2 separate regions of the Homo sapiens genome follow, and region 1 is linked to region 2. Evidence: promoter capture Hi-C in human tissues and cell types (Jung and others, 2019). All regions are on one chromosome and are shown on one strand. The core of a region is centred on a gene start or on the middle of the fragment in contact, and the rest is flanking DNA. Distances in the headings are between cores, read along the strand shown.

Evidence for each region. Contacts are between HindIII fragments. The study calls those that stand out against the background at their distance.
Region 1: a contact is called between a fragment that was not itself captured here and the fragment with the promoter of DOCK8 in region 2, in 1 of the 25 tissues and cell types used here (mesendoderm cells).

What each region holds. Positions count from the first base shown.
Region 1 is chr9:681,134-686,423 of GRCh38, forward strand. All of the region lies in intron 2 of KANK1 (KN motif and ankyrin repeat domains 1), which reads left to right. It overlaps KANK1-AS1 (KANK1 antisense RNA 1), which reads right to left and starts at 4,422. Exons shown (of 3, transcript NR_198989.1): 1 at 4,395-4,422. The HindIII fragment of the contact is 3,732 bases long and covers 2,171-5,290 here.
Region 2 is chr9:212,123-216,114 of GRCh38, forward strand. It overlaps DOCK8 (dedicator of cytokinesis 8), which reads left to right and starts at 2,743. Exons shown (of 48, transcript NM_203447.4): 1 at 2,743-2,907. The coding sequence starts at 2,855. It overlaps DOCK8-AS1 (DOCK8 antisense RNA 1), which reads right to left and starts at 3,628. Exons shown (of 1, transcript NR_160804.1): 1 at 1,335-3,628. RefSeq lists silencers at 2,498-2,747, 2,758-2,807, 2,858-2,907, 3,078-3,217. The HindIII fragment of the contact is 11,669 bases long and covers 1-3,992 here.

The sequences.
Region 1 (5,290 bases), core at 2,787-5,286, 470 kb after region 2:
GCTTGAGCCCAGTAGTCTGAGGCTGCAGTGAGTTATGATGGTACCACTGCACTCCAGCCTGGGTGACAGAGCCAGACCCTATCTCTAAAGCAAAAAACAAAAAACATTTTATTATGGTACTGCTAACAGTACTGCAGCGTCTTTTGTTAAGGAGGTAAGAGCATCATAAATTGCTCTTGACTGTTCTCTCATAGCCAGCTAGGAAGTAAATGGTGATTGTTGGTTAGGAAAATAGCTGTGTTTCTTTGGGGTGTAGGGATGAGGCAGTCTGCTTTTTCCCCAAGTTTCTGAATCATGTTGTAAACTGAATGCACTGATTGATACCTCTCTAAACACTAATGTTGTGAAACTTTAATTAGAGCTTAGATATGCTTTAGAAGCCAAATAACAAGTGGCTTATTTGTGAAAGAAAGATAATAATAGCTATCCTACCTTCTTCACAAGGTGGTTGTGCAGGGAAAAAAAGAATAGCTGTAAAAACACTTTTTAAAACACAAAGTGCTGGTCATATGTCAGGGGATAGCACCATTCCCCTTGTTCTCTTGTCCTTGTCATGAGCCGCTGATCAGGAAACATCCCAGGTACCCTCATGTCAGGCCCTGCTGGACGCCATGATATTGGGGCCAGAGTTGTATTAACATCCTCATTAAACCCAGTTAAATGACATAAATGGATGAGCACTGGGAGGTGACTTTTTATGCCTGCTCTTATCATCTTTATTTTTGCTACTAGTTGCCTTCCCCAATTGATTATAGCTTTTCCCTCATGCTCTTTCTTTTTTTGCAGCCTGGATATATATTTTTTCAGACAGATACATATTTATTTATTAAAGATGCTTATTGAATTGCATTAAAATGTTATTTAGGCTGGGCACGGTGGCTTACGCCTGTAATTCCAGCACTTTGGGAGGCCGATGCAGGTGGATCACCTGAGGTCAGGAGCTCGAGACCAGCCTGGCCAACATGGTGAAAACCCGTCTCTACTAAAAATATAAAAACTAGCTGGGTGTGGTGGTGGGCGCCTGTAATTCCAGCTACTCGGGAGGCTGAGGCAGGAGAATTGCTTGAACCCGGGAGACGAAGGTTGCAGTGTCCCGACACAGTGCTACTGCACTCCAGCCTCCATGACAAAGTGAGACTCCGTCTCAAAAAAAAAAAAAGAAAAGTTATTTAAATTAATGATAACATAAAATTTGACAGGAAACCAGAAGAGAAGAATTACTCAAAATTCCACACTAGGTCTTATTTTTAGTATTTATTTTTCATGCTTTTCAGGCTAACAAACTTAAACACAGTTTCAATAAGCTTTTATAATTTGGATATCAGCTCTTGACTTTAACATTCTTTGCATTTTTCCAAGTCTTCATGGAAAATAGTTTTCAAATTATTATTTTCAATGACTGTATAATATTCCTTATGGTGTTTCTACCAGTTGAAGTATTCTTTTTTTGTTTGGATGTTTGGACTGCTTCCACATTTTCCCTATGGTAGATGATGTTGCAGAGAACATCTTCCCTGGTCATTTTTCTCCTCCTTTTTTATTATTTCCCAACAATTTCAAAGAAGCAGGATGACTGGGTTAAAGGGCACAATGTTTTCATGGCTTTAGTAACTGTTGTGGGGCTTGAATCTCGTTATCTTGGTCAGTTATTTGGCTCCAGCTTTTGTCTCTATGCTGATCTTAAATGAGTACAAAGGCCACTGATAAGACCGGGTCAGCCAGACAGAGCCAGGCTCATGGCAGGGTAGGCAGAATGCTGCAGTGCGGTGCACCCCACTCTCGCTTGTGTAAATATTTTTCTGGGCAGGAGCGTTTCTCAAACAGAACTCTGAGCCCACTGCGGTGAACCTGATAGCAGGAATTACGTGCTATTTGTCAAGTATAAGACTAGTTTGCAGTGACTGGTCTGGCTAGAACCCACCTGGTGTTTTCTGAGATCATCTGTAAGGAAACACACAGCACAGCAGAGGCAGTGTGCGCCCGTGGTGGTGAGTCTTAGACCTGTCATCTGTGTTAGCATTACCCCGAAGGCAGAGAGTTTGCTGATTAGAAACTATGGCTGCTTTAATTCATGGGTACCCTCCGTGACTTTTCAGGGTCTCCTGGTTGAATGAATTTGCAGAAGGATTAAAATGTGTGTTCTTATTTGTGCTTTGTATTCTCCCATAAGTAGTGTGTTGGAGGCTATTAGAATAGCTGAGAGGGTAAAACATAAACACATAGGTAGGAGCCTGACATAAACACATAGGTAGGAGCCTGCCATAAGCACGTAGGTAAGAACTAAAAGGGTGTGTTTCCATTTCAGTTGTCCAGCCTTCCTTCCATACTCTCAGATGACAAAACACAAGTTGCTGAGCTCACACAGCTAATGACTAAGCCAGAAGTTGGACATGGAGAACATTTTTCCTTTGTTCAAGGTTATTTATTATGTTGACATTTAAAATCAGAAGTGTGATATCTGTGAAGTTCTGATTAAACAGATCAAGTGAAAAGGATGTAGTTCAGAAAACTGCATAAAACCCTAAAGTACAGTGTTTAAAAATAAAACGTCCTCCCTGATAGGGATTATGTTGGTAAGTTACTTTTTTTCTTAGTATGGATTATTTCAAATTAATAAACATATTGTTATTCCTTTATTTATTGCATCATACAGCTTCATCCTAGTATTAGTGTGTTTAATAATTGCATTTAATTAGATTATGCATTTCAACTTTCAATGAAACTGTAGCTGTTAGTCTTTTGAAGGCTAATTTCACGCTGAAATTTATAGATGAAATAATTTTCTTATAGTGGTGGTGTTTGAGAAGATAATGTAACTACTTCTTAGATTTCAATTTCATAACCCTTAAAATGTTGGGACCACCTACAAATGGGGGACACCCTGGGTTTTGAAGTCTTGCCTGTGTGGTTAATCAGAACCTCAGAATTCACCCAGCCCCCGGAGAGGTTTTGAAAAGCCCCTGGCTCATCAGAGCTTGCTTGTTTCATAAACTCTTAAGGCTTTGTTTTAACCTGTAGCCAGCTTCGCCTTATAAGCTTTCTTGCCCCAAGCCTTGAGCCAGTCATAATGGCTTAAGCATCAGATTTCAGACAGGCGATTAGCTCTCCAGCTAAGCCAAGAAAGGATGATTTATCTTCCAGTGAGTACCAGCCTATTTGAGTGTAGGAAGGAGAAAAATCTGTGCTCCTGCTCCTGGGTACTGGGCAAAGAAACCCTTTGGTTGGGGATTTTTGCCTGGTACCAACTTTATAGGTGCCAACAAGAAAGAAAGAAAAAAACACATACAAAATAAACACCCAACAGGGAGATTCGCTGTGTTAAGAACTCGAGCTGTTGCTATTATTCTAAGAGACTGGGTAGCCAGTCAAAGGGTTAAAACAGCCCTTCCTACAAGGATTTGAAAACTCTGTGCTCTGCTCTTCCTCAGCAGACTTCTCGTTGTGAGTATTGGCATTTATTTCTGATTATGCACTTCCCCTCTTTCTTGAATGAGTTGGGTGGGCTAGCTGAGCCCATCAAAGGTATAGCTCATTTGCTTCCTTTTCCAGGGTTTGCCTTCTTCCTGTGTCTGGGATAATTTCAGTTCATCTCCTTTGTGCAGTTTCTGAGAAAGGTTTGTATGGGCTTAGAGGAAAATGATCGTGACTAAAGCTCACAGTCACCGCTTTGGCTCCTTTTCTATAAAAGGTGGTTTGATTTGATCTGGCATGAAAAATATTATCATAATTCTCAAATTCACAGAAACGATAAGTTCTTGCTCTTTCCTGACCAAAAAAAAAAATTAATTGCATTGGGTAGACTTCTCTAATAAAACCTTTAAGGAGACCCATCCAGGAAATCAGATTTTATAAGATTCATTCAAACAGTTGTAGAAATTCTAAGTTCAAAAACCAAAAGCAGACTCTTTTCTTTTTCCTTCCTTGGCTTCTCTGTTGGATATTTTTGGAGTGAGCCTTAACTGAGTTACTCATTTCCACATGCTTTAGGAAAAGTATGCTCATGTTTTACAGGCTAAGCCTGGTTCTGCTTTTGAGCTGCAGTTCATTATGAATCCGGAAAACACAGGTTTTTGAAATGCGGCCCATTTGTACATATAGCATTAGTCATCTCAGCTGGTAGTTCTATACGATGAGTTATCTCACCACTTAAAAATAAGTACGCTGCTATTTTGAGATTTAAAAATATATATAGTGACCAGATTTCTTACCCTAGTTAAAGCAAGCCATGGCTGAAACTCAGATTAAACAATATTCTATAAAAATGAGAGAAGGCCACTCTAATCAACAGATAGAAAAACAGAACTATAGACATAAGGGAGAGCTGTGCTAAGGGACAAATTGTTGGATTTGTAGGATTTGTTCGTATCCTGAAAGTTAAATCTTTGTACTCTTACCTTGTTTATGGCCAGATTTGCCTGATCCCTGATTTCCCTCCCAACTGGATCAGAGGTTGTGGAATTGGAATTTCACCATACAAACCTTTACTTAAAGGAGGTAGTACTAGAGTAACCATTTATGGGAACAGTTTGCTACTAATAGTTACTAGTACTGAGTTTATTTTAGTTCCTTTTTCATGATTTTATTCCATTGGAAAAGTTTTCTCTCAGGGATCTTTTCTACTTTGGACATGATCTCTGTTAGGCAGAATCAAAAGATAGCTGTGTGGCTTTCTGAATTTAGTCTCACAATATTTGGTTTAGTTGATAAATCCCATCCATCAGCTTTGCAAATAATTTTGTGAAAACATTGATTCAGCTTGTCCTGCCCAATTTTCCCATCCCTGCCCAGTTTACTGAGTGCCTTTTCCATTTGCATCCACTGTCCATTAGGCCAAGGCGTTTGAAGTGTTTCTGTACAGCAGGTACATTTAAGACTCTCCAGGAAGAAAGGGGGAAGAATATTCCAAACTGAAAACATCAAAGAGAGAGATGGGGTATTTCCAGTAACTTATATGCCCAGTGCTTAATATCTTAAAAACCCTACTCATGTGCATCAGCTCTTACTTTTTTCTAACTAAAACCAGAAAAAAGTTCTCTCTTCCTCTGTTCTCAGTATCCCCCTCATGTAAGTCTGTCTACCCAACACGGTGCAGCCGATTTATTTATTTTTCCCTCAGCATTTTTAGGTGGATTGACTGGGATGCTTTATTCAACTCAGGGACGCACCACGAATATGTTTTTTGGGGCAACCCGTTTGGCATGTTCCCCCTCAGCTGTGAGGACAAAGACTGGTTTGTCTTCTTGTGACCTGGCAGAGGAGGCAGAAGTACCTGCTGAGCTTATGCAGCATG
Region 2 (3,992 bases), core at 1,493-3,992:
GGGGGTTAATGTTATTATTTAATGGTTGCTATGAATTAATTTTTATAAAGGACTTGGAGCAGTACCCGGTACAAGATAAGTGTTATTTAGTTGTTTGTTCAATAAAATAGGTAAGATGCAATGTAGAGAAAGAGGTCGGCTTTCTGGGGAGGTAAGAAGAAGATGTGGGGAAAACTAGAGCATTTAGGATAATTGATGTATGGTCTGAGATAGAAGTCAAGGGAAGAGTTGTATAAAGGTGAAAAACAAAATTGAATGACACAAAGATACGGAGAAAGAGGAAGGCCAAGAGAGACCATCAGATGCGGAAAGAAGGAGGCCTCCCAGAGTTCTCTCTGGACAGAGGGCTGATGGAAAACGAAAGAGGCAGTGAGAATAAGGAAGAAAGGCACTTGGATGGCTATTTGCCAGCAATATGTGAATGTATCTAACAGCAGATCAAACTTGAAAACAGGCATTTGACTAAATTAATGGATAACACATTCATGGTGAATTGTTAAAAGAGTGTTAAGGAAATCTGGAGACAATTCTAACCATCAAGAAATTGACAGCACAGAGGATAATAATGCTGGCCTAACCTTCATGGTTAGGTACCAAATACTAAATCTATTGCAGTATGATCTGAGGCAAGATGGAAGGTTTTATGATTCCCACATTCACCCAAAAAGTTTCCTTGATTGCAAATGCTGAAAATCTGAGATGCTTTCATTACATTTTATTTATGTTTGTGTGAAACCAGTATATTTTTGTTCTATATGAAAATGTATGTCATAAACATTCAGAAATTCAGAGGAGTTCATCCGAAAGGCTGACATGGTACACCGTGGACCGAAGCCTCTGGGGCAAAATGTTTTCTATGTATCATTCGTTGAGTCTCAGTTTGAAGAAGTACTTACACATTTGTTCTCTTTGTATTTTGCTATCCAAATGTTTGCTCATAAATTCCAATGTAGTAAATAAGGACAGTTTTGAAAGTCAGAAACTCTAAATTTCAAAAAAGCTTTATTTTTCTTTGGGTTTGTTTTCGTATGTAGTCTATTGTAGTCTATGCAGTGAACTTTGTCTTATATGCTTAAAAGGGCACTGATATTTGGTGGGCATTGGGGGGCGGGGAGTTACCTAACCAGTACTGAAAAGTTACTAAACTACCTGACACAGCTGAAACCAGGAAGGAAGGCTGTATCAGGAAGAGACTGAATATAGTCCTTAGGTGGATTTTAGTATTAGGTGACAAATTAGGTTGTATTGGACTGGCACTGTCCAATAGGAATATAATGAGGCTCACAAATGTGAGCCACATGTGTAATTTTACATTTTTAAAAATGCAAACCACATTTTTAAAAGGGGAAAACAAACAGGTGAAATTAACTTTAATAATATATTTTTTATATCCAAAGTATCATTTAACATGCAATCAACATGAAAATCATTAACAAGACATTTTACACGATGTTTTCTGCGCTGTCTTTAAATTCCAGTGTACATTTTACACATCCAGCAGTGGGCAATTCAGACTAACCATAATGCCGAGTGGTCAATAGCCACATGTGGCTAGTGGCTATCATATTAAATAGTGCAGGTTTGAACCAAAAATACTTCGCTTTGGTTGTTTTTTTTTTTTTCTTTTAGACGGAGACTTGCTCTGTCGCCAGGCTGGAGTGCAGTGGCAGATCTCGGTTCACTGCAAGCTCCGCCTCCCGGGTTCAAGTGATTCCCCTGCCTCAGCCTCCCAAGTAGCTGGGACTAAGGCGTGCGCCACCACGCCCGGCTAATTTTTTGTATTTTAGTAGAGACGGGGTTTCACCACGTTGGCCAGGATGGTCTCGATCTCCTGACCTCGTGATGCGCCCGCCTCGGCCTCCCAAAGTGCTGGGATCACAGGCGTGAGCCACCGCGCCCGGCCTGCTTTGGTATTTTTTAAGAGCAAGTTGGTAAATGGAGGCATTATATGGAGAGTGCTCGAGTATATATAGCACAGGTTAGAGCAGCACGCCGGCACCTTGAAGCGAACACGGGCTCCTCCACTCCCGTCAACACTGGGACTTTTCTGTTTTTATCTTGAGTTTGAGGCCGGGCTTCTTAGCAGACCTCAGTCTGAAACTGAAATAAACCTGGACGCAGCGTACCCTTGAATCGCAAGAACGCCGCCTTCAGTGTTTCTCCGGAGAAAAGCATTCACGCCAGGTTGTGACGAAAACATTTTTTGAGAACTCATAATGTTTATTCCTTGGATGAATCCATTATATTTATTTAGTGTCTCAGGAAGGATGATGGGCATATTGCTTGCAAAAGTTGATTTGAATCCTGATAGATTCCACTAACTTTTTTGTCTTTTTTTTTGGCTGCCTTCTTCGAGAATGGTGTCAACCCTTAATAACACCTAGCCTTACGAATCCCTGGGGTGATTCCCGACCTCGCCAGCTTTGTGGGGCTCCCCCGACTTGCCTACATTCCCTGGCAGCCTCGCAGCTTCGGGCAGATGGAGCTTCCGGCCTGCGCGCAGTGGTCGCCTGTCGTCCGCCCGCGCTCCCTTCGGCCGGAGGTCGGCGGCCCCGGGCAGAGCGCGCCGTCTGCCCCAGTATCGGGAGGCCAGTTCCGCGCTGGGCCCACGCCCTCCTCGCCCGCCGCTGCCTGCGCGCCAGGCCGGGTGGCGGAGCCGGCCGTCGCTGCTCCGAGCTCGGACCCTCCCCCGGGGTGATTTCGGCTTAGAAGGTGGAAATGCGGAAGTTTCCAGCGCCGACCGACAGACGAGGTTTGCGCTTGGCTGGGCATGTTCCGCGGCTACTCTGCGGCGCGCCAGGCCCCCGCTTTCCGCACCCCGCGACCCTAGAAGCCACCGAACCGCCGGCGGGCCATGGCCACTCTGCCGAGCGCAGAGCGCCGCGCGTTCGCGCTCAAGATCAACAGGTAAGACGCCCCCCGCGGCGCGCAGGTTGCGGCCGGACAGCCCAGCGCTGGTGTGAAGCGGAGCTTCGCTGCAGGGGCCGAGGCCGGACGAGTCCATTCGCGTCCGCGGCGGGGCGCGCCTGAGACCTGGGGCGCCCGGTTCCCGAGGCTGCGGCGGTGGAGCCGCTGGACGCGCGGCGGCTCCTGCGCTGGGCCCGGCGAGGTCCTCCCCAAGAATCTCGGTGCTCCTGGATGTCCTCAGCCGCCGGGGATCCCTTCCCCGAACAACCTCGCCCGCTCCGCCCTCCAGGTTCTTACAGGTGGCCGGGTCCCAGAAGGGTGATAGGCGCCTGGGTAACCGTGTTGGGCGCGCCACGGAGTGTCTCATAAACGGCTCCTTCCTTTGAGGCAAGTCTGAGCGCGGGGGGAAGAAGTGAAGTGGCTGAAATTAGAGTTGCGTTTGAGGCAGGCTGCAAGCCTTCTGTCGTCCTGAGCAAGGCTCCGTCCTCGCCTGCTTCATTATTCCAGAAAGAGCTTGGCTCCTGGTGGCATCGCTATTTTTATACCCTGGTCCAAAGGAGCCATGAAGTGGAAAAAGTGATTTTTTAAAAAATCTACACTTAAATAAACCAAAAGAAATGGCCTGTGGCTGACATTTTGAGATTTACAGAACTCCAGCAAAAAGCTAAGGACTGGGGGATCCCAACTCACCATCCAATTCCTAATCAAAGTTGCACAAACTAAATATGTAAGCACATTTACTGCTCAAAGTTCTCAGTAAAGGTGCTTTAACTGCAGTTTTTCCTCCACTAAAAACTGCTGACAAGTAATTGGGACATTTTTGTCTTGCCCTGAGAAAGCTAGACTGTCTAGTTAAAAGATAATAGGAAACTCATTCTAAAGTGTCAACTTATTCTATTGCCCACAGGGCTGTCCGATTTGTTAATCTTCACTTAGCTGAGCCTGTGAAAGGTGGATTCCACCGTAGGTTCATCTTTGTGCTGTTAGTGTGTGAAGAGGTTTGAACAAGGAATTAAAAGCCTAGAAAAACAAGGCGATAAGGTCTTCTAGAGGGCATATCGAGCTTTATTGACGATTTTATTTCC